4 separate regions of the Homo sapiens genome follow, and all the other regions are linked to region 1. The links are contacts of gene promoters, found by promoter capture Hi-C in blood cells and fetal thymus (Javierre and others, 2016). All regions are on one chromosome and are shown on one strand. The core of a region is centred on a gene start or on the middle of the fragment in contact, and the rest is flanking DNA. Distances in the headings are between cores, read along the strand shown. Region 1 holds the start of FYN (FYN proto-oncogene, Src family tyrosine kinase). Region 2 overlaps REV3L (REV3 like, DNA directed polymerase zeta catalytic subunit). Region 3 has its middle 15 kb from the start of REV3L. Region 4 overlaps TRAF3IP2 (TRAF3 interacting protein 2).

What was found. Contacts are between HindIII fragments. The CHiCAGO score rates a contact against its expected background, and 5 or more counts as called.
Region 2: a fragment that was not itself captured here is called in contact with the fragment with the promoter of FYN in region 1 in 3 of 17 cell types (non-activated CD4 T cells, naive CD4 T cells and activated CD4 T cells); the score reaches 9.3 in non-activated CD4 T cells.
Region 3: a fragment that was not itself captured here is called in contact with the fragment with the promoter of FYN in region 1 in 2 of 17 cell types (total CD4 T cells and activated CD4 T cells); the score reaches 5.9 in total CD4 T cells.
Region 4: a contact is called between a fragment that was not itself captured here and the fragment with the promoter of FYN in region 1, in 2 of 17 cell types (non-activated CD4 T cells and activated CD4 T cells). The highest score is 6.6, in non-activated CD4 T cells.

What each region holds. Positions count from the first base shown.
Region 1 is chr6:111,870,761-111,877,108 of GRCh38, reverse strand. FYN (FYN proto-oncogene, Src family tyrosine kinase) reads left to right here and starts at 3,657. Exons shown (of 14, transcript NM_002037.5): 1 at 3,657-4,141. LOC102724646 (a long non-coding RNA gene) reads right to left here and starts at 3,657. Exons shown (of 3, transcript NR_168402.1): 1 at 3,419-3,657; 2 at 897-1,058; 3 at 1-615. RefSeq lists silencers at 3,528-3,617, 3,738-3,987, 4,138-4,537 and an enhancer at 3,586-4,085. The HindIII fragment of the contact is 15,284 bases long and covers 1-6,348 here.
Region 2 is chr6:111,475,490-111,481,837 of GRCh38, reverse strand. The region is part of intron 1 of REV3L (REV3 like, DNA directed polymerase zeta catalytic subunit); the gene reads left to right. Among named protein-coding and RNA genes, the nearest start is that of REV3L, 4.6 kb to the left of the region's middle. RefSeq lists enhancers at 2,472-3,196, 3,794-4,686. The HindIII fragment of the contact is 2,284 bases long and covers 784-3,067 here.
Region 3 is chr6:111,494,757-111,501,104 of GRCh38, reverse strand. It overlaps TRAF3IP2-AS1 and the pseudogene LOC107986520. Among named protein-coding and RNA genes, the nearest start is that of REV3L, 15 kb to the right of the region's middle. The HindIII fragment of the contact is 231 bases long and covers 2,205-2,435 here.
Region 4 is chr6:111,584,530-111,590,877 of GRCh38, reverse strand. The region is part of intron 2 of TRAF3IP2 (TRAF3 interacting protein 2); the gene reads left to right. It also overlaps TRAF3IP2-AS1. Among named protein-coding and RNA genes, the nearest start is that of TRAF3IP2, 18 kb to the left of the region's middle. The HindIII fragment of the contact is 3,238 bases long and covers 1,047-4,284 here.

The DNA.
Region 1 (6,348 bases), core at 2,408-4,907:
ATGGAAATATATGTGTATTAATACATATATATAAACATACATATGTACACATACAAACACAATACTAATTTATTAGCTCTTCTTAATTTTAATTTGTTGTGAACATCTTTCCACACAAATAAATAAATAAATGGCAATGTTATAATTTTATGGCTATATAGTATTCTATTATAGATATAACATAATTTACACACCAAATCCCTTATCAATGAACTTTTCTCAGTGTTTCACTATTATAAACAATGTTCCAATTATTCCCATGATATGTGCGCTTGTGTTTGTGTATTTGCAAATTTGTTCCATTCTTTCCCAGAAGTAAAATTGCTAAGTCAAATGTATACATTTTTTTAAAAGGCTTTTCACAAATGCTATTAAACTGCCTTCCAGCAATGTTGTACCAATTAAAAATTCCACTAGTAGGGTATGGATATCCATTTTCCTGTTGAACCTCCTATCACATTTACTGGCCATTTTGGGTTTTGTTTCTGTTGCACATATTTTTCAGTTCGAACGTTCATCTTTATTTTCTTGTTGATTTGTAAAAACTCTACATTGAGGGTTTTTACCCTTGCCATATGTGTTGTTGTTGAGTTGACATTTAAGAGAAGATTAAAACTAAAATAAAATAATAAGACAAGAAAATGTTTTAGCTAATAAAAATAAGAAAAAAAAGTTACTTTAAAAGCAAGATATAAGATTCAGATGAGACAAGTTCAAGAAAGCCAGAATAGAAAGAGGAAACTTTAAGGTAAAACAAGTAGAAAAATACAAAATATATAAACAATATCAATAAAATCAAAGAGAAGTTCTAGAACAATGACTACATTCTAATTTGTATAATAGAAGCTACTCATAAGAAAACAAAACTGGTGGTTGTGGAAGACAATATTACTTACCTTGGGTAGGCCAGGGACAGCGTCTCAGATCTTTAATCAAGTTCTTGGTAGAGATTGGCAGAAAAGATCAAAACGGGAATAGTATACAAATCTTTTGCAGTGCTCTATTCACTTGTTCAGACCATTAGCAAATCCTCCTGAGGAGTCCAAATCCATTTAAAGCTACATTTAAGACGGGCAACAGATAAAAAAGTAGGTAAGCAAAGAATTACAAAAAACAGGATGAAGTCTTGATGGGAGCAGGTTAATCTGTCATTTTAATCACATTGTCTCTTTGTCCACTAATTAGATCAAGAAGCTATTACAGTTGCAGACACTAAGAAGTGACTTCTCGTGAAGAAACAGAGAGAGAGGAGGAGAGAGGGAGAGAGAGAGAGAGAGAGAGAGAGAGGACTTATCCCACCTACTCCAGATTTCCAGATTTAGCGTAAGATAGATTGAACTAAACATGAGATTTCAAGGAGATATATAGCCTAAGAGTGTTTTTTTCTTGAGAGCATATGACACTTAGTCTGTCCGGAATAGTTTGAGAACAGTTTTACTATTTTTCCCATTTTACGTATGAGGACACTAAGGTTCAAAAAGGATAAGCGACTTGCTTCATCAAAGCGCTCCCAACAGTGAACTGTGGAGCTGGAATCAGAAACAACTCCAGACCAGTGCTGCCCGATAGAGATATAACTTGAGCCACATAGGTTATTTAAAATTTTCTAGTAGACGCATTTAAAAAATAAAAGAAACAATTTAATTAACTCTAATAATGTTTTATTTAGCACAGTACATTTAGACTATCATTTTAACATGTAATCAATATTAAAATGGGATACTTTACATTCCATTTTTCATGCTTGATCTGAAATATCTAATACATCTTTTACATTTACAGCACATCCTAATTTGCAGTAGCCAAATTTCCAATACTGAAGTACATTTCAAGTACTTAACAGTCATGTGGCTAGTGGCTACCTCCTCGGACAGCCCAATTCTAGAACTATGGTCCTCAAGGTGCTGTCTCCAGATTGGCTGTATCAACATCACCTGGGAACTTGCTAAATGTGCAAATTCTTGGGCACCATCCCAAACCCCCTAAATCAGAACCTCAGGTGGTTAAACACAGCAATTCATGTTTAAGCAAGCCCCTTCAGTTATTTCTGATACATGTCAAAGTTTGAGAACCATTGCTCTACCCAACTGCCTCTGCATCCCAATCCAAATAAACCCAGAGCAGCCATTGCGGACTAGCCCTGAGGACGAAGAGCCTCTGCTCTTGAGATAAGCAATTCTTGGCTAAATGAAGCTGGCTTTCTCTTGTATGGAAATATCCTAGTCCTAGCTATGGTTCCATTTCTTGGGATTATGGAATTTCCAGACACAATTTAAACATGGTTTAATTTGTCATTTTGTTTAAGGAAAAGGAAAAAAATCCAGTAACCTCTGTATACTGTCACCTTGAGTTAGTTACTTAACTTTTCTTTTCCTCAGTTTCCTCCTCCATAGGATGCAGATCATTTAATAAATGTTAGCAACTTTTCTTAAAAAGTAGTGTGTACAAAAAGAAAAAAGTCAGCAAAAGGGACAGATTTTTTTAAACTACAGTAAAAACAAGTAGTGGGCCGGAAAGGCAATATTATAGATTTTGAGCACAGAAGCAGAAGCTGATTCACTTATAATTTCTTAGAACATTAGATTTGCTGAGGGGGAAGGTAGGGTTCTTGCCAAAATCATTAAGGAGAGCGATTCTGAGTATGCCTTAAAGCAGAACTTTCAGTAAACAGGAATTACCTATAAAGAAAATCAGGAAGCCAAAGTGTTTCTTTTTATGAAGTTACATCCTGCCATAGAAAAGCTGGATAGGAAATAAAGACCGATGCACTCCCAACTGTATACTAAACCGGCAATTATTTCATCAAGGGAAATATGAGCAAAAGCTCAGATTCAGTGAAGGGGAAAAAAACATGAGAAGTTTGAATGTTATGAGAAACCAAAGACAACCAATGACTACAATTAAACGAGGTTTTTTGGGGGTGGGGCGGGGAATGTACGAACAAATCTCTGTCATTTCAGGTTCCTTAGTCGCCGCTTGGCCCCTCCCCCTATTTCAGTAATACTTCCTCCAGACTTTTGCTAGAAAAAAAATATAAATGAGTGTCCGCAGAAATAGGGGACTGATAAAATGATCCTAATCTCCTTCTCCTCCTCATTGTTATTTGTTGTGCGTTTCCACGTTTCAGGACAGGATTCTACTTTGCTCCGTACTCTTTTCAGTTTGATCAAAGAAAACGCTGCTATCACCGCCCAATTTTCCATTTCATCCTCTCACCCTCAAATGAAAAGACACCAGAAAGGCAAGATAGCCCTGTCTCGAGGCAGTTTCCCATGGTTTTGGGGGAATGGCAGGTGCCAATCTGCAGCAGCAGCTGCAACCTTCCGCAAAGCGGAAACTGCAGTTCACACTCTCCGCTCTTTCTCCCGCCCTACTCCGCCACCTCACAACTCCACACAATCCTTAAAAACACACAGACCTCCTCCTCCAACCTCGCATTTTCTTGCACACCCTGCACCGCACGCACCCTGGGATGCCCGCTGCCACAGTAACGCTCAACCCACTCGGCGGCCCCACCTACTGCCGTCCCGCCCACGCCCCAGGCGCCAATGGTTGCGGCTCGCAGCTCCCAAGGGGCTCTTTGATAGGGCAGCCGGGCCTGTCACTCTCGAGGCGCGCCCCGCCCCCTCCTCGCTCCCCTCCGGAGCTGGAGGGGCAGAGCATCAGCAAGAGTAGCAGCGAGCAGCCGCGCTGGTGGCGGCGGCGCGTCGTTGCAGTTGCGCCATCTGTCAGGAGCGGAGCCGGCGAGGAGGGGGCTGCCGCGGGCGAGGAGGAGGGGTCGCCGCGAGCCGAAGGCCTTCGAGACCCGCCCGCCGCCCGGCGGCGAGAGTAGAGGCGAGGTTGTTGTGCGAGCGGCGCGTCCTCTCCCGCCCGGGCGCGCCGCGCTTCTCCCAGCGCACCGAGGACCGCCCGGGCGCACACAAAGCCGCCGCCCGCGCCGCACCGCCCGGCGGCCGCCGCCCGCGCCAGGGAGGGATTCGGCCGCCGGGCCGGGGACACCCCGGCGCCGCCCCCTCGGTGCTCTCGGAAGGCCCACCGGCTCCCGGGCCCGCCGGGGACCCCCCGGAGCCGCCTCGGCCGCGCCGGAGGAGGGCGGGGAGAGGACCATGTGAGTGGGCTCCGGAGCCTCAGCGCCGCGCAGGTAAGCAGGCGGCGGGGATGCGTCGCGGGAGGCCTCGGGGATGCTGCGGAGAAGCCCGGCCGCCGGCGCCCCCGCGCACGCCGCCCCCGCCGCAGGGCCCGGTGCTGCGGTCCCTTGGCCGCCAGGGCGCTCCGCGGGGCTGCCGGGGAGTCGGTGCTTGGGGTCTTCCCGCGGTTGCACCGGAGGACACCCCTGCGGGGTGCGGCCCCGAGGCAGCGCGGGGATGGGGACCCCATTTCCTCGCCCGCAAGCGGGCGCCGGGTGAAAATGGGAATTGGCTTGGGGGCGAGGCTGGCCCAGACTCCGCCCCCGCCCTCCTTTTGGGGCCCCCCGCGGGGACTGGGGCTGTGTGTGTTGTTTTAATGTCAGGGATGATGTAATCACTTAATAATTGATGCCCCGTGCTGCTTCCCTCCCCACCCAACCCCTGCCCCACTCCTCCACCTCTCGGCCTCCTCCCTCGGCGGCGGTCGCCTTCTCCAACCCATCCTCCTGCCTATTTCTGGCACCTCCCTTGCACTTCCCCCATCCTCCCCTTCACTCTTCCTGTGCCACCACCCACCCACCCTTCCCCTTTCCCCTGTGCTGGAGCCTTCCCTCCTCTTCCTCTGTCCCCCACCCCTCTGCTCCCTCCAGCTCTTTTCTCCTTCCTTTCCGGCTCCCTCGCTGGATTTCCTCTCTACTTCCCTAGATCCATGGCTGTTTTTGTTTGGGCTCCTCCCCTCTGTTATCTCTGCGGCCACAGGCGGAGGGGACTGGGCCAGAAGGAGGCCACCGAGCTTGGGCCCAGCAGAGATGTGCTGGGACTCACTGGGAAGAGGGATAATAAAATCACCCTTCTTGCCCCTCCTTCCCCCAATAAATCACACAGACTCGCCGGGTGTGTGAGTGTGAGTGTGACACAAAGAGCCCTTTCAGTGCATAGAGAGGAGACACACAAAGTACCCTAGGATAGGCACGATGCTTCTTGTCTCTCTTCCCTGGGGCTTCCCTTTCTTTCCCATGAAGCAGTTGATCTCTCTGAGTCTTTCCTGCCACATTTACCAAAAAATAAAAGAACCCCCGGATGCCGGGTGGCAGGTGTCGGCATTTTGCTGTGTTCAGAGACCGGTAGTGTTGACTGGCAGCTGCAGTGTTTCTTAGATTTAAGGGAACAGTTATCCCAGCAGTCTTAAGAGTTGCTTTACTTTTAAGGTAGCCTCCCCATCCCCTCGTTCTTTCCCCTGTCCTTTTGGGAACAAGTACTAAGAGCTGGGGTAGAGTAGATTGGTGTGGGGGTCACAAGAATTTTGTTTCTGAATCAGAATTAAATTGTTATTTGATAAGAGGGAGGCAGCCTGAATGGCTTCTTCTCTCAAGTCTAAGAGGGCACTGTACTGAAGTCTTTTGAAATGAAATCCTGTCTGCCCAGTGATGTTGTTTTACCCTTTTATTGAAGTAAATACCTGGGGACGTGGATAAAACGGTCTAGAGTTAGCATTTGGAAGACCACTGCAGACTGCCTCTTGCCTGCTTCAAGGTAGTCTTGGGACGCCTACTTCCTTTCTCACCACCCAAGCAACTGCAATACTTTCCACCCTATGTACTGTCTTCTTCCCCAGTCCCTGCTCCATGGGTACCCTGTATTCAGATGAAGGGACTCACAGACTTTTGGAGGAAGTGGTTTAACTATCTGAGGCTTTGAGGCCACTTGGCTATGAACTGGGGCTGTAGAGAATCTTGACTGAAGTCTAAACCATTTGATGTTCCCTTTAAGGAAGAAATGTTAATGTAAATCTGGGGGCTTAATGTTCCGTTTTGTAAGCCAGTGACTATTACATGCTTAATCGATATTGTCAAAACTTAAGTTGAACCTGTTCTTTCCTAAAAGTATGGCTCCTCGACTATTTTTATAAGTAACAGAACTGTAGGTTTAGTCTTCAGTAATTTTATTAGAAAAGAGTTATGATTCATTAAATATTTACTTACACACTTTTTAAGAACATTCATCGTGGAACTTTTTACGATAAAAAAAGCAATAGGGTTAATGAGTGTACTGTAAAAACAAAGGGTCGTTTGTTTGATGCCAGACCCAGGAAGGAAAGCCAGAGCACATAAACTCACACTCTGTTGACCAAGTTTAAGAGACTTAATGATAAGGTTGAATGTGAGCAAATGCACACTCTGCTTTCTCCTGGGTCTGGAATCTCCAACCCCATCTGACTTGC
Region 2 (6,348 bases), core at 676-3,175, 390 kb after region 1:
AAACTCCTGGGGCTTATGATAATATAAAAAAGATAGAGGCCCAGTTTACTAGGTGTTTTAAAATGGTTTTGCTTTTTTGCATGCTTTGAACTGCTTCCATGAAATAATGGAGTTCTAGGAAATAATGCATCTTAGGAAAGGTTGTTCTTCCCTCTAGCTATGAATTGCCCTATGGGATTTTAGATAGCATTTCCCACTTGATGCTCCTTGCCCTCATCACCATTCATCTTATTACTACAGTCAGTTTCTGTGGACTACCAAGATAATAGCGCTTTCCCAAACACAAGCACTCATTTTAAAGCAGTTATCTTTTAATGTGAATTCTCTTTGTTAAAATGTCAATGTTGTGAGATTTGGTAGCATATTCCTATTTAAACTAGTGAATATGATTTTGATATGAACCTTGAAAGATGGGGAATTTGAGTGCTTTTAACGTGTTGAAAGTGTAACACTTGAAACTTTGGAGGCTGGGAAATCGAGGCGATGAAGTGTTCTATAAGATAGGTTTTCTGCCCTTTTAAATATAGTGGTGCTGTCTTTGTTTCCAATTGGAATTTCAGTGTAATGCACTGTTCTCACTTCAGATGCAGAGGAAGGATAAAATAGTGAAGTTGATATGGCCCTGTTCAGCCAAATTTCCGAATCATAAAGTGACATGCTAATAGGATATACTGTGGCATTTCTGTGTATTACAGCTTGTATGGTTTGAGTTACTTTTCCACACATAATTTTTTCTCCTCCACACAAGTCATTAAATATGTTTTCCTGAGAGATAGTCAAGCTTTGTTGTATAGGAAAGTTTCGTTTGTGGAAATAAATGAGTTTCACTGTAAGCTAATGTAATTCTATTACGTGAGGAAATGTTCCTTAAAAAATAAAGAATATTATATACTGTTGTTTTCCTGAATATTTTTTAAAAGACACATTAACTATTTCCTATTTAATCCTTCATGGACATCCCACAATAGATTACCAGCACCTTAAAAAAAAAAAAAAAAACAAAAACGAAAAAACCAAAGACTAAAAACCCCCATTGGGGTTTTTTTTTTGGTACATACTTTGAAATTTATATTTTAAATGAATTAAAAAGTAACACTTTTTATATGTACATTGAAAGACATAAAACTTGATACAGAGAAAGTCAAATTTTAAATTGTTAAGGATTATCAAATTGAATTTGCCATGTAGTTCACAGTTTCCAACAAAATGTTTGTTTCAACAAGAAAAAATTTGAAGTCATTGGCATACATTTAGAGTTTACACTTTTCATAAACCAAGCCAGCATTTTTATTAGCACGTCAGAAACTCCCAGTGAGATTAATATTAATTAAACATAATCAAAAACTGCAGAATTACCTGCTTTTGAATTATCTCCCCAAGGAAAACTAGTCCAATAAAATAAAACTTGAAAATTATTAATATAAAAGAGAGGCCAGTCTGACTTAGTAAAACTCTGAATGCTAGAATTTTTAATGAAGACAGATTTATTTGAAAGTAAAGATGTAAACATAATGCAAAGATATAAACATGGTTTGTATTATATCTTTATAGTTTATATCTTTACTAACAAGTAAAATAAGGTAATAAAAATGTGTAACACATGATAAACCTATGCTACATAAAATAGCATAAACATACTTTTTTCATATATAAGAATTACTTTGGGAGGTCCTTAATGCTTTACTTTGGTTTGGAGAGAAAATGTTTTAAAATTGACTTTGCTTTACAAATGAGATCCTGAAAAATAGCAACCAAAGATATTTTTTCTCAAATGAAGTGGCCGTTTCAAAATTATATTACAAATTCTGAACTGATTGGATTAATACCCTTTTACTAGTTTAGTTTTTCTATTATTGCCTGAAAAGCATTTTTCTGCTTTAGAAAACAGTCCAGTTGACTTTTGATTGTTCTGTGTTTTGAGGACGTATCTTGAGTAATTTAAGAAATAAAGTGTTTTGGGTTTAAAAGCTCCCATGTCTTAAGTTGGTGAAATTTGAAAAGGTATTTTTAAAAAGAGGGATATTCAGGGCTGGGTGCTGTGGCTCATGCCTGTAATCCCAACACTTTGGAAGACAGAGGCAGGAGGATCGCTTGAACCCAGGAGTTGGAGACCAGCCTGGGCGACATAGTCTGTACAAAACAAACAAACAAACAAACAAAATTGGCTGGGCGTGGTGGTGTGCACCTGTAGTACTAGCTATTTGGAAAGCTGAGACAGGAGAATCGCTTCAGCCCAGAAGGTTGAGGCTGCAGTGAGCCAAGATCACGCCACTGCACTCCAGCCTGGGCAACAGAGCAAGAGCCTGTCTTAAAAAAAAAAAAAAAAAAGGCGGGGGGGGATATTCAGATTTGAATGGTAAATCCTGACTGATTTAATCCCTTGCCAACTGAGGATATTGATTCCTAAGGGAATCACTTAAAGTTTCTTCATCTGAGTTATGGAATTTTTTAAAAAACAAAAACAAATTTCCTCTCCATTTTTTTAACTAGTTTTTAAAATGTCTTGAACATTATTTTGACATAATCAAATTGAGCAGTATCATTTGTAGAATAAATTGTTAATTTTTTCTTTTAGAACAACATTTTGGTAACTTGTTTTAATGGAGGGAAGAAAGGTTGTGAATAAAGTATAGGACAATGTTTTTTCATTTAGATTTGAATATAGGTGTGACCACTCAGAGGATTCACTACAAATGAAATCATCAGGCTTCATTTAAGGATTTGACTGAGGTGGACTTGGGAAGCTGTCCATTTTCCACATCTCGACTTTTGCTTAGTTGCTTGATGTAACTCACTTCATGCTGAGTTTAGACAGCTCTCACAGTTTCCTCAGCACCAGGTTAAACAGAACTATCCTTTCAAAGAGCTTCCCTGCTGAGATGCAGAGTAGGAGTAAATAGAAGAGTGTGGGATGTCCACAAAGCAAGGAATTAAACAAAGTAGGCCAGACAGACTATAGAGGGAGCTGCTTGTCTTTAAGATTACTCTAAGGAACTCTGCCACTTCCTCTAGCTTAGTGAATATTTTGGTAGATTGTTCTAGATACTGTTAGCCATGAAATCAAGCTTTTCAACATAAGGAATTGATAATTCTGAAATGCTATATAAGTTTATGTAGATGCTTATCCAATTATAAATATATTCTCATTGTTTATATTTTATAAAATTAAATATAAGAAACTACCAGAATAACCTTTTTTTTTTTTTTTGGTAAATTGGAGTTAAATTTGCAATAAGAATAATTTTGAAAATTAGCGTGTATCAACAACTCAGGTTCAAAAGTTTCTCTAATAGAATCTGCTTTGTTCATAGTCTGTTTTTTACTAAGCTATTTAAAAATATTTTAAGATCATATAACACCTATTTGATTACAATTATTGGAGAGATTTTCAGGAACGCTATGGAGATGTAATGACTCATCACAAACAAATTGGTCACTTTTTTTAAAGTAGGTATTTGAAGCCCTGAGTAGCAAGTTGTTTTAGCTTTAAGTGCCTTAAGAACAGCTTTACTCTCCAGAAGCTCACAATGTAGTAGAGATGATGGGCATGTAAACGTAAGTCAAATGCAGTATGACTGGACTATAGAAATGTGTATAAGACAAAGCAAGGATTCATTGGGAGACATGTTCTATATCCAGGCAAAAAGGGGAGTCAGGGAAGACTTCGTGAAGGAAATATGGATTAGTCATGTTAAAGGAATTTTTAAGGAACTTAAAATTTCAGATAGAGGAACAGCTACAAGGTAATTGACAGATGAAGACAACTGCTCTTTGCAGGGCAGTTTGGCAATGTATATTAGAATCCTTGAAGTGTTCTTTTTTGACCCAGTAATTCTAGTTTTAGGGATTTTAATCTATGAGCATAAATCTTTTGGCAAATCTGGTTGTCTTTTGAATCCGTCTACTTCTTTTCATAATCCATCACCACCCTAAACTACTAGCATTTTTGGTCAGGTTTACTACAGTAGCCTCCTAATCTTGGTTTATCCCAATCTACTTTGTCCCCTTCTGATCTGTTTCCTACACTGTAATCAGAGGGATCTTTTAAAAATGCAAACCTGATTACATCACCCTACTGTTTGATATGCTTCAGTAGCTTTCCATTGCATTCAGGATATGGACAGAACTCTGTGTCTTATATGGTGGCATCTGCCTGTCTTACAAGGTCTTGCATAGTCTGGCCCTTACCTTTCTGTCTAGTCATGACTTGAGCCATGTTCTTGACTTACTCTTTTTGTTCCAGCCTTGTTGGCCTTATCTCAGTCCCTTGTTCTTGCCATGCTCCTTCCCACAGTGAGGGCTTTGTACCTGCCGTTGCCCCTGCTGAGAATGTTTTTACTTTTCTTTCACCTAAACTTCGATTTATCTTTCCTCAGGGAAGGCTTCCCTATCACAGACTCTCAGAGCACCATGAACTCTCCTCATAGCACTTGCTGTCATTGTAATTTCATATGTGTTGGAGATTAACATCTGTTTTTCCAAATAGATTGTAACCTCCAGAAATCCTGATAATGTGTTTCTTTTTCCTCACCATTATAGAGTTAATGCTTACCACAGTGCTTGAAACTCGTCTATTAATTCTTGGAACTCATTTGTGGCAAGGATTAATAAATAGATGATAATCATCACAGAGAACAACTCTAAGTGTTCAACAATTGGCAAATGGTTGCATAAACTGGGTATATTCATTTGGGAGGATGTGTTTAAAACATGTTGTAGAAGTATGTGTAATAACATGGGAAAGTGCTGTCATATTATGTGAAAAAATTAGTTTACAAAATAGTCACTTATTAAAAGTGTGGAAAAAAATACACCGAAGTATAAAAGTTGGTTATCTCTGGAAGGTATGTTTTATATTTTCAGATTTTTTACAGATAACATGTGCTGATTTTATAATTTAAAAAAACCATGTACAAAATTAAGGAAAAATTGATTTTCTAGATATGGTTCCAGAAATGTAGTGGGAGACATGAGATTCGTAATGGTCTCCAAAATATGTGTCAACCAAAATGCATGATTGCATGATGATCATATTGAACTTAATTATATAAATTCCATTTAGAAATTGCAAAATGATTCATAAATTAAAGCAAGCCAGTAATTTCTGGTTGTATTATTCTTACTTGTATGTAAAGTGGTTTTAATTTTAAAATGTTTTGAAAAGTAACATGGTTTTGGCACATGACAGCACTAAAACAGAGTAAAGACTAGAATTAACTTAAATATATATGAGAGCTTAATATAGGTTGAGCATCCCTTATCTAAAACTCCATAATCTGAAATCCTTCAAAATCTGAAATGTTTTGAACACCAACATGATGCCACAAGTAGAAAATTCCACACCTGACCTCATGATGGGTCGCAGTCAAAACTTCGTTTCAGGCTGGATGCAGTGGCTCATGTCTGTAATCCCAACACTTTGGGAGGCTAAGGTGGGAGGATTGCTTCAGCCCAGGAGTTCAAGACCAGCCTGGGCAACATGGAAAGACGCTATCTCTACAAAAAAATACAAAAGTTAGCCAGGCAGGGTGGTACACGTTTGTGGTTCCAGCTACTTGGGAGGCTGAGGCAGGAGGATCGCTTGAGCCCAGGAGGTGAAGGCTGCAGTGAGCCATGATTGTATGACTGCATTCCAGCCTGGGTGACAGAGCAAGTCCCTGTCTCAAAAACAATCAAAACAACTTTGTTTCATGTGTAACATTATTTAAAATTATATAAAATTACATTCAGGTTTGGTCCCATCCTCAGGATATCTCATGTATGTGCAAATATTCTAAAATCTGAAACACTTCTGGTCCCAAGCATTTCAGATAAGGGGTATTCAACTTGTATATGAAAATGGATCCCACCTTCATTTATGAGTAGGGAAAAGAAGAATTGTTTAATAAACAGTGTTGGGATAGCCAGTTAGTCATCTGGAAAAATAATGTTGGCTTCCAGAGGAGTTAAAGATTTAAATATGAAACAAAGAAACAAAAAAGGTAGGGTAATTATTTTTTACGTAATCCAGGATTGGTGAAGTCCTTTAATAGCATACTGGGTTGCTGGATTTTAGGACATAAAAATAAAATTCTGTACAGGGGAAAAAATCAAACAAAGTTAAAAGAGAAACAGACTAGTAAAACTTATTTGTATACTTCACAAAGGGCTAAGTTCCTCTTAATACAAAGAACTAGAAAATAATCCAGTAGAAAAATTAGCAAAGAGAATTCATATGAAAAAATGTACAACTTTATTTATAATATAATAAAGATGTAAATTCAAGCTACAACATACTCTTTGTCACCTATCAAATGAGCAAAGGTTATGTATAGTATAACTCGGGAAAGGTGAGAAGAGAAAATGGTC
Region 3 (6,348 bases), core at 1,071-3,570, 370 kb after region 1:
CGCAAACAGGTTCAGGTGATTCTCCTGCCTCAGCCTCCCGAGCAGCTGGGACTACAGGCATGTGCCACCACACCCGGCTACGTTTTGTATTTTTAGTAGAGACGGGGTTTTACCATTTTGGCCAGGCTGGTCTCGAACTCCTGACCTCAGGTGATCCGCCCGCCTCGGCCTCCTAAAGTGCTGGGATTATAGGTGTGAGCCACCGCGCCCAGCCTCTGTTTGCCCTCTTCAACACTTCTTCCATCTTCATGAGAAAGATATGCCTAAGTGAGCTGGACAGTCACAGAAGGAGGATGATAGGTAAGTGTCCAGCCTAGAGCAAAGCTCCCAGTAGGTCTGCTGATGTATGAGCAAGCCCAGCTGGGAGGAGCCAACCCTCAGACATGTGAGCTATAATAATAATTATTGTCTTAAGCCACTTTAGAGTGTTTGTTATACAGCAAAACCTAAATGATGCATCTACCCTGAAAAACCTCATCCTGACCATATTATTCTAAGTCCCTTTGTTGTATTCCCAAACTGCTGCAAAAAGTATCCTTTAGTTTTTGCTTGTATTCCTTTGCATTTACTCTTATCTGTACCACTTCTCTTTTAACTGACACCAAAATTCTCCTAATGGTCAGTCTTACAGCTTTGGCATGATCCTCATCCATGCTGGCCTCTGTACAGCACCTGACACTATAGGTCATTTCATACCACTGTTAAATTTCTCCCGCTTTTATTGTACTCCACTAGTTTTTATTTCTTTGATTGTTCCATTTACTTCAAGGGCTCATCTTCTCTCTTCCACTCTTCTAGGGAGTTTATTCATTCTCTCAAGAGTGACTGTTATGTATCTGACTTACACATCTTTATTTCTACTCCTAATCTCTATTTCAAGCTCTAGTTCAGTTGGTCCTCAAACTGCAGTGTGCATCAGAATCACTTGGACGGCTTGTTAATATTCAGATTGCTGGGGCCTCACTCCCAGTTTCCTATTCAGTAAGTCTGGGATGGGACCTGTTAATTTTCATTTTTAGTAAGTTCCCAGGTGATGCTGATGCTGCATCAGTGACCACACCTTGAGAACCACACTTCTAGTTCCATATTTCCAACTCCCTAACAGTTTTCTCCTAGTTATCCATAAGTGCTTCAAATATCACATACAATGTCAATTAGGGTAGTTTTTGTTTTGTTTTGTGTTGTTTTTAATACTGTAACCACTAGTAACTAACAGTCTAACTAATGCAAAAGAAAGATTTATCAGGAAGCTCACTAAAGACTGCAGAACCATGTTCCAAATAAAAAGATAACCAGAAACTAGACTACTTGACAGTAGGAGCATTACCCCTAAGTCTGAAGTAAACTGAGTGTTTGTTGTTTTTGAATCCCTCAGTTCAAAAGTCAATTCCAAATGAGAGTCACCTATCTATCCCTTCGTTGTACCAAGGGAGAGACAGAAAGGATTATGGTGGAAGTAGCCACCAAGGACTCCTTTTCTTTCACATTGTCTTAGTTCAGGCCCTCTTAATTAAGCAGGTAGATTACTACGACAGCCTCTTAACTAGTTTTCTTGCCCCTAACATAACCTCCAATTCATTCTCCACATCATCTTCAGTTATCTCTTTAAGACACATGTCATTTTCTTCTTTGCCTTATCTGGTGCAGTATTCATGTCTTATCTTGTTTTAAGTAATAAATTGCTTTTCTCCATATACAAGTGGTTGCAATATTTTTGCCTTAGCTGACACAAAAAATGGAAAAGCAGTTTGAGAGGGTAGGAAACACAGCCCATTGTAAACTGAGGATCTAATCACCTAGTAATCAGGCAAGAGTCAGAAGCAGAGTACCAAATTTTGGATAGAGACCCCTCAAGGAGGCTTTAAGATATCAAGTCTCTCACTAGACTGAAAACTCCCTCATGGCAAGGATCTAGTTCTCACTCTTTCCCCAGCACCTAGCTCAGCACCTCACAAATAACAAGATTTAATGACATGAAGAAAGTCATCTCCAGACCCTCCCCTACTTTAAATTACTAGCTTACAGTCTCTGCCTGCATATCACCTCACCACCAAATCCTTCCTACATACCACTGCTAAATCAAGCCAATTATCATTTCATTTCCTGCTCAAAACCTTCTGACTGTCCAATACATGCTCGCCAACTCTAAACTCTTCACCATTCAAAGCCTTCCAGAACTTGGTTCTAACCAATTTTTCTAAGCTTTCTTCCACTCCTCATTACACTGTCAGTCTGGATAAATAAGGTTTAACATAACATTTTTCCTGTTCTTGTTGGTTCCAGTTTTTGTAGTATCTGTCTTCCATGATGTCTCCCCTATCTTACCGTCAAAATCTAGTTAAGATGCCACCTGTCAGTGACCTACCACTCTAGGTTATTGGTAACGTATCCTCGTACCCTATGCTCCTTAATTACTTAAGGATCTATTTGAAGCTTTTGTTAATTACTGTCCTGTTCGTATATATAACTTCTAGTAGTTGAACACATACTATCTTAAATTATAATTATGTAGTTGTATTATTTGTCCTACCAGATTTTAAGAGACTTAAGAGCTTTCTGCCACTAATCTTCTATATCCCCAGAAACTTCTGTAGTGCCTTATACATAGTGGGCAATAAGTAAAATCTGTTAAAAAGATGAATAAATGGATGTTTATAATACAGCACTAGTGTTTGGGGCTGGTCCCTTGAGGTAGCCAGCCTGTGACTGTGCCAGGGATTTCTGAGCTGCTGAAATCAGAGGGTAATAAATCCTGGCAGCTTGGAACTGGATGGTGAGTCTAAATCAAAGATCATCAGGTTGAATGGAGATTCAAATGCCAGGAACAAGCATCAAGTGAAAAGGTCCAAAAGACAGAACCTGAGATGAAATGTAGAGCAAAGGGTATGGAATCAGGCAGAGACACAGTAAAGGCAACAGTCGTCATAACATATTGATGAGGATCTGAATGGTGGACTTTGGAGCGGGGGCCATGCAGTGCACTCATCAAGGTGAGTGGTTTGTTGGTAAAATAATCACCTAAAAATTGGAAGTTAGGTTGGCATCCAATTATCATCTCTAGCAAAGAAACACATATATGAAAATAAAAAATTTATAATAGCAAATATAGAGAAATTAAATAGAACCTGCTTTGAGAGGTGGATTTCATTTGAGCTTCATTTTGTTGCTTCTGCCCTGTCACCTTAATTTGTTTCACACATTTGCACAAGTTCACATACAAGTTGTATTTTTTGATTCCTTTATATTATGGAAAAAGAAAAACACATTTTAAAAGAGATAACATCACAGCACCCAACATCAATACAAAAACTCAGAACTTATTTTTACTGTATTTTTTAGATTTTTAATCTTTCAGCGAAGCTGCAATAACAGTGTACATAATAACCACTGATTTTTCTACATGAACTGTTCACAGACTAGAAAATTCTGAGATTTTATAAAAGTTTAAAAATCCTTAAAAATGTTTAAAAAACCCTAATTATGAGAAGTACATATTCTGTTATCAAAAATCCTAAAAAGTTTAATTCCAACAGCTACCTTGCCCTATAAAACATTTGTTTGCCTGTCAATCTGTGAGGTTGGATCGAGCAACTCTGTCCCACACAGCGTTTTCTTGTACTCATTAGTAGTAAGCATTGTGGCAAAGACTAATGTCCTCATGAAAAAGACAGCAAAATTCACTTTAAGTTCTTCTGTACAGGTGCAATAGTCCTCTGAATAAATTGTAAAAATTAAAAAAAAATTTTTTTTTGACACGATCTCACTCTGTTTCCCAGGCTGGAGTGCAGCGGTGTGATCATGGCTCACTGCAGCCTTGATCTCCTGGGCTCAAGCAATCCTTCCACCTCAGCCTCCCCAGTAGCTGGGACCACAGGTGCACACCACCACACCTGGCTAGTTTTTTTATTATTATTTATGGAGATAGAGTCTCACTATGTTGTCCAGGCTGGTCTCAAACTCCTGGCTTCAAGGGATTCTCCCACCTCAGCCTCCCAAAGTGCTGAGATTACAGATGTAAGCCACCATACCTGGCCGGAATTTTGTTATTTTGATTTAAATGCTGAATGAAGTAAGTTTTAAAGCCTATATTATTCTTCCTGATATAACTGACAGAAGGATAAGTTCTCATATTAGGTTCTTTAAAAGTTAATATATTTGGTGGCAACACAGAAGAATAGGAAGATCGCTTACCAAGGAGGTAGGTAACCTGGATCTCACTTACTCTATGGGGTCTTAGGCAAGTCATTTACTTTCTCTGAGTCTCAATTTCTTCATTATAAAATCTAAAGACTTGGATTATTTCAATGGTCTTGACAGGAAGACTGCACTGGAATTGCCTGTGGGCATTCTGACTTGGTAGATATGAGAAGAAAGGGCCTAGATAAATGTATCTTTACAACGTCTCATAAATGATTCTGATGCATATTACTGGTTAAGAACCAATGGTATAAATAATTTCTTGGGTTATTTGAAATTCTAAGAATCTACTTTTTACATCCAATCAACGGAATTTTTAAAACTCCTACCTTTCACTATTACATCATTCTTCTTGATGAATAAGTATATTTTAGGAAATGGAGAAGCTGCCTCTAAATTGTGAATAGCTTACTGTTATTGAGTGCTTAGCAGTCTAAGGTGTTAACTCATTTAATATATGTAATTCAATCTTCACAACAACACTAAGAGGTAGGTACTACTATTATTATCTGTTTATTACAGACAGGAAAAATGAGGCACAGAAAGTAATTTGCCCAAGTTATGGAGCAGGTAAGTAGGGAAATTGGGCTGCAGAGTTTAAACACCAGAATGCTCTACTATTATTCAATAAATGACCTATATATACCAATAAGCCCCATCACTATTCCCCACCCGAATAGTGCTGTTTTCCCTGCTACTACAGGGGAAAAAAGGGGTATGTTTTTAGACAATCTTTGAGAGCAGAAGGGAGAAGCTGGGAAACTCAAGAATGAAAAAACTCAAGGGACCTGGGCCTAAGACCTCTGGCCCTGAATTACAACTAGAGACTACTTTGATTTACAAAAGCCTCTTTAAATAGGGTGACTATTTTTAGGAGTTATTTTCCTTCAGTTATCATTTCATCCCATGATGTCTAAGACATGCTCTTTTTGATTGAATAAATATTAATTTTAAAAAATATTAGAAATGTACCTTATCAGATGAACTAGACCCAAAACTGTAAAGCAAAACAGGAAAGGATAAAAGCTATGTTAGAGTCAAAGGGAATGATAATCAAATGATTCAGCCTATTGTTAATTTTGGGTATGCAAAGGAGAATTATAACACCATACTTTGGCATAAGGTAGAGATTAATCCATAACACGGTATAACCTTCCCTTCCCAACAGTATTAGATGGGCTGTCTACTTGGGTGATGAATTTACTCAGGATGAGGGCAGGAATTCAGGTGAAGGAGAAAGACTGTAAGCCAAGTGTCAAAGTCTTTAACATCTTTAATAAATTAAGTCTTGAAAGACTATGAATATGCTAAGTACAGGGGAGCAGATATTCTAGAATGAGGATCCTTCTCTTTTCTCTATGAGCTTTCAGTCTAAAAACATGTTATACAAATGCAGAAGTAAGCAGCCTCCTAAGAAAAATGAGTAGTGTTTTCCTTCATTCATAAAACTAATCTTTATACTGCTTTGCAGACTTGGCAAGAACCTCTGGTTCACATTTTCATCCAAAGGCTAGATTTTCCCCACTAAAGAGGAATGGAGAATGAAATTACCTGCTAATTCAAGCAAGAAAAATATCAGCTCTTATTCTCATAAATTTGTGAAAATAAATTACAACTAGATTGCCCCAGTTCTGATTTGAAAACATCTGGTGAGACCACTAGGTATAGTTTCTCACTACTTTTTTTTTTTTAAAGTGTAAAAACACACATATTCAAAGGTTTTAAAAATAATCTTAAAAGAACAGAGTAGCATGCTATTTCCTGACAGGCTGACCTTTACACAAAGAATGTTCACTTTCAACAAACTGAAAATTACTCTTACTGATGGCTTCAGAATATCACTGTCTACCTCAGAAAGCGGAATGTTTTGTACAAATCATAAATAAGTGGCTAGACGGACACTATTTGGTCATCAAATGATCAATGTAGAGGGCAGGGGGAAATTATTTCTGCAGTACCAACCATATATCTGGTACTGTGCAAAGGGAAAAAGGAAATGGGCTGGGAATGGTGGTTCATGCCTATCATCCCAGCACTTTGGGAGGCCCAGCTGGGAGGATCCCTTGAGCCTAGGAGTTTAAGACCAGCCTGGGCAACATTGGGAGACTCCATCTCTACAAAAATAAAAAAACTGGTGGCAGGAGCCCATAG
Region 4 (6,348 bases), core at 1,416-3,915, 290 kb after region 1:
TCTTAGACTTGGCAGAGAAAGGGCTTTTAGTCAAAAACAAAGCAAAACAAAACAAAAAACCAGAAGGTGCCCAGAATGTCATTGAGACTCTGGGATTCGGGCCATTACATGAAAATGAAGTTGTTTCTGTGATTTTGCTGCTTAAATCCTTTTGGACACTTGAGCCATCCACAGCTACCCTACATTCCAGCCACTCTAAGACTGGCAGTCCCCCTACTTGTCGCGATGGTTCACATCTCCATGCGTTTGCCAGGCTCTTCTCTCTCTTGGGGATGTTCTTCCCCTTCTGGTGTGTTTGACCCAGTTTCAATACACCTTTTAAAAAAACTGCTTTATCGAGATCTAATATACATACTGCAAGGTTTACCCTTAACCCATTTTAAATAAAAAATTCAATAAGTTTTAGTATATTTACAGAGTTATGCAACCACCATCATACACATTTTTTGAGACTTAGCTCAAGTGTCCCTCTGGAAACCTCCCCAGATCACGTTCTCCTTCAGGGCCTCTGTCTCCCTCCTGCTCTGGCCCTGTTGGGACACCTAACACCAGCATGGCATCTAATTATGTACGTGTCTCCTCTCCTTCTAGACTGCAAGTTTTTATGCATCTGCAAATGCAAACGTGTACTTTCAATTCATAATTCCCCAGGATTTAAGCACAGTGTCTGGCACATACTAGACTCTCAATAAACTACTTCCGAAATAATAATATGTATCAGTGCAGGAAGCATCTCTGAAAGTGATAAGTCTTAGGTTGAGATAAAAGGTTCTATCACCATTTTTTTTTTCCTACTACCATTCTTGATGTTAAATCTCCGCTGAGGCCACTGGAAAATAACAAAAGGGCTTTACAGATGAAACACAGGGCTGTGAGGCCTGATATTTTTCTTAGCAAATAAACACTGGACAGAAAGTAGTTCAGAGTGTAAGAAGTGCCTGACCAAAGGCCTGATGCGCAGCTTTAAAATAAATTATAGAAATAATTACAAATGCTGTAATCAACCATAATTTACATATTAGTACATGTATACTAAGTATAAAGCTTCCTAAAGTGAAGAGAGCAACACAGTAATTCATAACTCAAAAAAGAAAAAAACAAAGAGGAGATAGAGAAATGTAACTTAGAAGATGCTTGGAAGAAATAGGTAAGAATGAGTGTGAGATCAGGAATGAGGGCAGGGGCTGGGGAAGCAGGAGGGTGTAAGGAGAATGGGGCCTTGGGCTGGAGCGGGAGAAAGAGCCTCTGATGCCTAAAACTGGGACGTGGTGTATAAATGCTGGGAAGTCAACAGAGTGGGAGTGCATGGATGCCACCCCTGCTCTAAGCGCCCAGTCATAGGGTGGGTGTGGTGGTGGATTCCCTTAAGTATGAATCACTGAGAACTGAATGTTGGCAAGGTCAAGGCTGTATTTCTCAGTGATTGCCAGGTTTAAAAGGAGTAATTTGTGAGAATAATACCATAAACTACTTTTTAACATTCTGTTATCTGTATTTAAAGGTAAGTTTTCACCAGGCACGGTGGCTCACCCCACTTTGTAATCCCAGCACTTTGGGAGGCCAAGGTGGGTGGATCACTTGAGATCAGAAGTTTGAGACTAGCCTGGCCAACATGGTGAAACACTGTCTCTGCTAAAAATACAAAAAGAATTAGCCAGTTGTTGTGGCGGGCGCCTGTAATCCCAGCTACTCGGGAGACTGAGGCACAAGAATTGCCTGAACCTGGGAGGCAGAGGTTACAGTGAGCCGAGACTGCACCTGGGCGATGACACAGTGAGACTCCATCTCAAAAAAAAAAAAAAAAAAGATAATTTTTCTGATCATTATAATATTTGGTCACTCCCAAAATTAAAATATGCCCAGAAGTTCAAAAAAGAAAAGAAAAAGTTTTCATATTTCTGCCACCCAAATAGAATTCCTTATTAGGGTTTTGACATATCAATTTTCAGTGTTTTTTTCTTTGCATATATTTTTAATCTAAAATTAAAATAGTTTTCAGTGACATTGAGTACTTATTCCAGAATCATTTAAAACTGCTTCATTGTATTTCATCAGACGCATCTACCAAATTGTTATGAACCTATTCTTTATTGTTGGACATTTAAAATAGTTTCCAGTTTTCTGATCCAATAAGCAATGCTATGGCAAGCATTGCATACATATGTTTTTAACTGCACTTCCGATTAACTCCTTAGATTAATGCGAAGAACTGTGAATACTTAAGGCTTTGTGATACAGTCCCAAGCAGCTGACTCTGACTACTAACAAGGGAAAGCCTCATTGTGATAGACAAAAAAAGCACTGACTCAATGTTATAATGAAGGTCCCAGGACCTTCTGGAAAATACTTCCCACGGAAAATACTTTTCCTGTTGTTGGAGCTGAAACAGCGCCATTGGCAATCCAGTCTTTGGAGGTGAGCGTTGTCCCATTGGGGCAGGCTCCTTTAAAAGGCAAACACTCCTGACTGGGAACACTTTTTGTCCCTATTGCCCCAGGACCTGCTTTCTTTCATCATTTCACCATCCCCTTGCTCTCTGTATTATTTCCTTCTGTTAGGGGGTTGGGGAGAGACATCTAGGATCCTTGGGGCGAAAAGAGGTGTTGAAAGGCAGAGGGGAGAGAATGGGGATAGGAGAGGGGAATAATTCACAGAAGATACACAAATAGCCAATATGAAAATTAAACCAAGCTCAATATCATTAGATTTAAGAAGTGCAAAATTCTTAAAGATACCTTTTCCTTGATTAGTTGTGCAAAAATAAAAACTTTGGACAACATCCAGTGTTAGTGGAGTTAGAGAGAAATGAATATTCCCAATCACTCTTGATAGGAGTGTAAATTGGTGCAATCTCCCAGAAGGCAATTTCACTATCACAGTTTTATATGTGCTTCCTCTTTGGCCCAGCAGTTTCACTTATAGGAATCTGTCCTATAGAAACATTAAACAAGCATATACAAATACAAGAACAAGAATGTTTATTAAAGCATTGTTGCATTAGAGTAAAAACAAAAACAATTACAATGCCTATCAATAAGGGGCCAGATAAGTCATTTGTGATTTATGTATACTATGGACTACTAGGCCCATGTTGCACTGAATACACATTCTGACATCAAAAAGATTAAGTTGAAAGGCAAGAGCTGCAGTGATGATCCCATCCATGTTTATTTTTTAAAAACTATATAGGTTTATATATACATATTAAGTCTAGAAGGATCTAGTGGTGATCTTGGTGGGGAGGGGAGCAGGGAATTAAGAGGAGACAGGTATATTTTCCTTCTAATTTCATATACTTTTGTTGATTTTTAAAAATAGCAAACGGCCGGGTGCAGTGGCTCACACCTGTAATCCCAACACCTTGGGAGGCAGAGGAGGGCAGATCACTTGAGGTCAGGAGTTCAAGACCAGCCTGGCCAATATGGTGAAATGTTGTCTACTAAAAATACAAAAATTAGCCAGCCATGGTGGTGGGCACCTGTAATCCCAGCTACTCGGGGAGGCTGAGGCATGAGAATCACTTGAACCCGGAAGGTGGAGGTTGCAGTGAGCTGAGATCGCGCCACTGCACTCCAGCCTGGTCAACAGAATGAGACTCAGTCTTAAAAACAAAAACAAAAACACATAGAAAACATAAAAATAAAAATAGCAAACAGGTATTACTTCTATAATTAAGAAATGAGTAAAAACTGAAAAGAACAAAGGGAAACAGCACATATAGAAGGCAAGCTCGCCCCAATTCACCTTGCATGTCCCTTGGCCCTGGCTCCCATCTAACCACAGAGAAGAGGGTCAGGGTTGCCAGTGCTGATGGGTTTTTTGCAGGGCATTGTAGCCCTAGAATATTTATGAGGCCTCCAGCAGCAATGAGTCCCACGAAGGTTGCTGTGAGGATTAAATGAGATAATGTATTAAAGGCACTAGGAAAGTGGCTGGCTGGTGGTAAGCCCTCAATACTAACAGCTTTTAGTTATTATTGTTATTATTTAAAAGCATCCTGTAGCCCAGTTCTGCAGGGTGCTCCTCTACTTCCAGATCCCACTCACTGGCACAGATTTTAAGCATTCATGGCAGGTGTACAAATGCTTAGTTTCATGTCAGGGCTATAACTGCACTTAATTGCTAACAAAACCACTTCAAAAGAGCTGTTCACCTAAGGGATGCTTGTGCAGTTGGAAACCATGGCTACGTGGCTCTACTCAGCTTTAGAAGAGCATTACTTCCTTACCCATTAATGAATATATAAATAAATAATGATCACCATGCAAATGGCATATCTAAGCTTTTTGCAAGTTAAAGCAAAAATGGTTATTGGTCGCCCCTTTCATGTAAAAAAAAAAAGTTTTCAAAGTAGGTGGAAATAAGAAAGGGAATAAGTCTACGTTTTCTCCTCACCCCACCCCCTGGAGAAGTCGGCCTCCTGCTGCCTCCGAATCCTTCCACTGAAGGTCGCCAGCATGGAGTTCATGGCTGTGCAATCAAATGAAACTCATGATGCAAATATATTGGGAAAAGAGAGAGAATTAAGTCTAGAGAGCCCTCATTTTATTATAAAATTATTGCTTTCTCTACCAAGGAGACTGAATAGAATAAAATTACAGGTACATGTGTACAATTGTACCTGTGGACCAAAAAAAAAAAAGGGGAGGGATTATTTGTATGCTAGAATGCATGCACAAAAAATAAACCAGATGGAAGAAATGATAAAGAAGGAGTTGCCTTTCAGGAACGACAGCTGCTTACAGCTGTGGGAGTTCCTGCAACAGTTTATATTGGCCATTTTGTTTCCTGGCTAAACTGATTGCATTATATCACGATTTTTTTTGACAACTTGAAAATCAGATTTTATTTCTCTCTCATAAACTCTTTTAATTCTTAATAAGGAAGAAAAATGTTGCATGTTGTGACTGATAAATGGAAAACCTCATTTAGGATTTGGTTTACATATTCCAAATGGTAAAAGCTCAGTAACATGAAGATCGTGTGTACTCAGGCCAAGAAGATCACAGGATTGACAAATAACATACAGTCCTGGGCGCCCATTTGTGATTGTGCAAGATTTTCATTTTTGCTTTGTGATTAACACTGCCTCTGAACTGAGGAGTTACCATGCTAGCAAATCATTTGTCTATCACATCATCCACCTTCCCTCTCCTACAGAATTAACTCTCTTGATGGAACTGTAGGCATTGGGGACAAGTCCGCAGGGAAGCTATTTCTGAACAGGGATTCTCAAGTAGGTGGCTGTCGACTCATATGTCTCCCCTTCTCACACACTAACTAGTGTGGGTTTGTGTTTAAAAACAGACACCCACAGACACATAGATTTTCTCTTTCTCTCTCCATTTATTTTGAGCTAATCCCAAGGGAACTGTATCCTATTTATCTTTGTTCACCAAGTGCCTGGCCATCGAGGTTCAATAAATATTTGTTGAATGAATAAAAAGAAATCTGTTCTCTACTTCCTGGGGAAAGGAGTGAGCCTTAATCATGAGTAGAGTCTTTGTAATGTGAAGCCTTGGAAAAGCCATTTTTTTTTTTTTGGCCTGGGAGGGAAGCAAAGAAGGGAGTCAATGAAATTTGGAAACAGAACCTGTCCATCCACTTATCAATTTATTCAGCAAATAGTTATACACCGTCCTTGTTTTCATGGAATTCACAGTCTACTGGAGAGATGGATAAGAAGTAGAAGTCAGAAACAGAATGACAAATTATAAGTGCTATAAGGGAAGTAACTGGTTGTTGGAACAGACATTAATAGACAGGTTGACCAGAGAATCTCTTTAAGTAGACATCTGAGCTGAAACCTAAAGGATGAGAAGGTCAAGGAAGCAAGGAGCTAAGGAAGCAAGGAGCTTGATGTCATTAAGATACCAAAAGCAAGTCAGTGGGGCCTAGCAGAGTGAGCAAGGAGAGAATGGTGTGCTAGAAGATGAAGGCTGGATGGGCCATGGTGAGGAATCTGGATTTTTATTCTGAGTTAAACTTCTTTATGAAAATGGAAAATTGAACTCTATAATTCTCAATATGGAACTTAGAACAGTACTTGACATGTAGCAAGTGATCAATAAATGTTAGCCATTATTTTACATGTATAGTACCCAAGTAAATTGGCAAGCCTTCGTCATAGTAATTGGAAAAAAATGATTAAAACTTTAGCAGTGAAATGATGGTCATTTACTTGATAAACATAGTTTTTATTTAGCAACTTTTCTTGTTTCTTTTTTTTTTTTGGTATTTTTTTGTAGAGATGGGATTTCACCTTGTTGCTCAGGCTGGTCTTAAACTCCTGGGCTCAAGAGATCCACCCACCTAGGCCTCCCAAAGTGCTAGGATTACAGGCGTGTC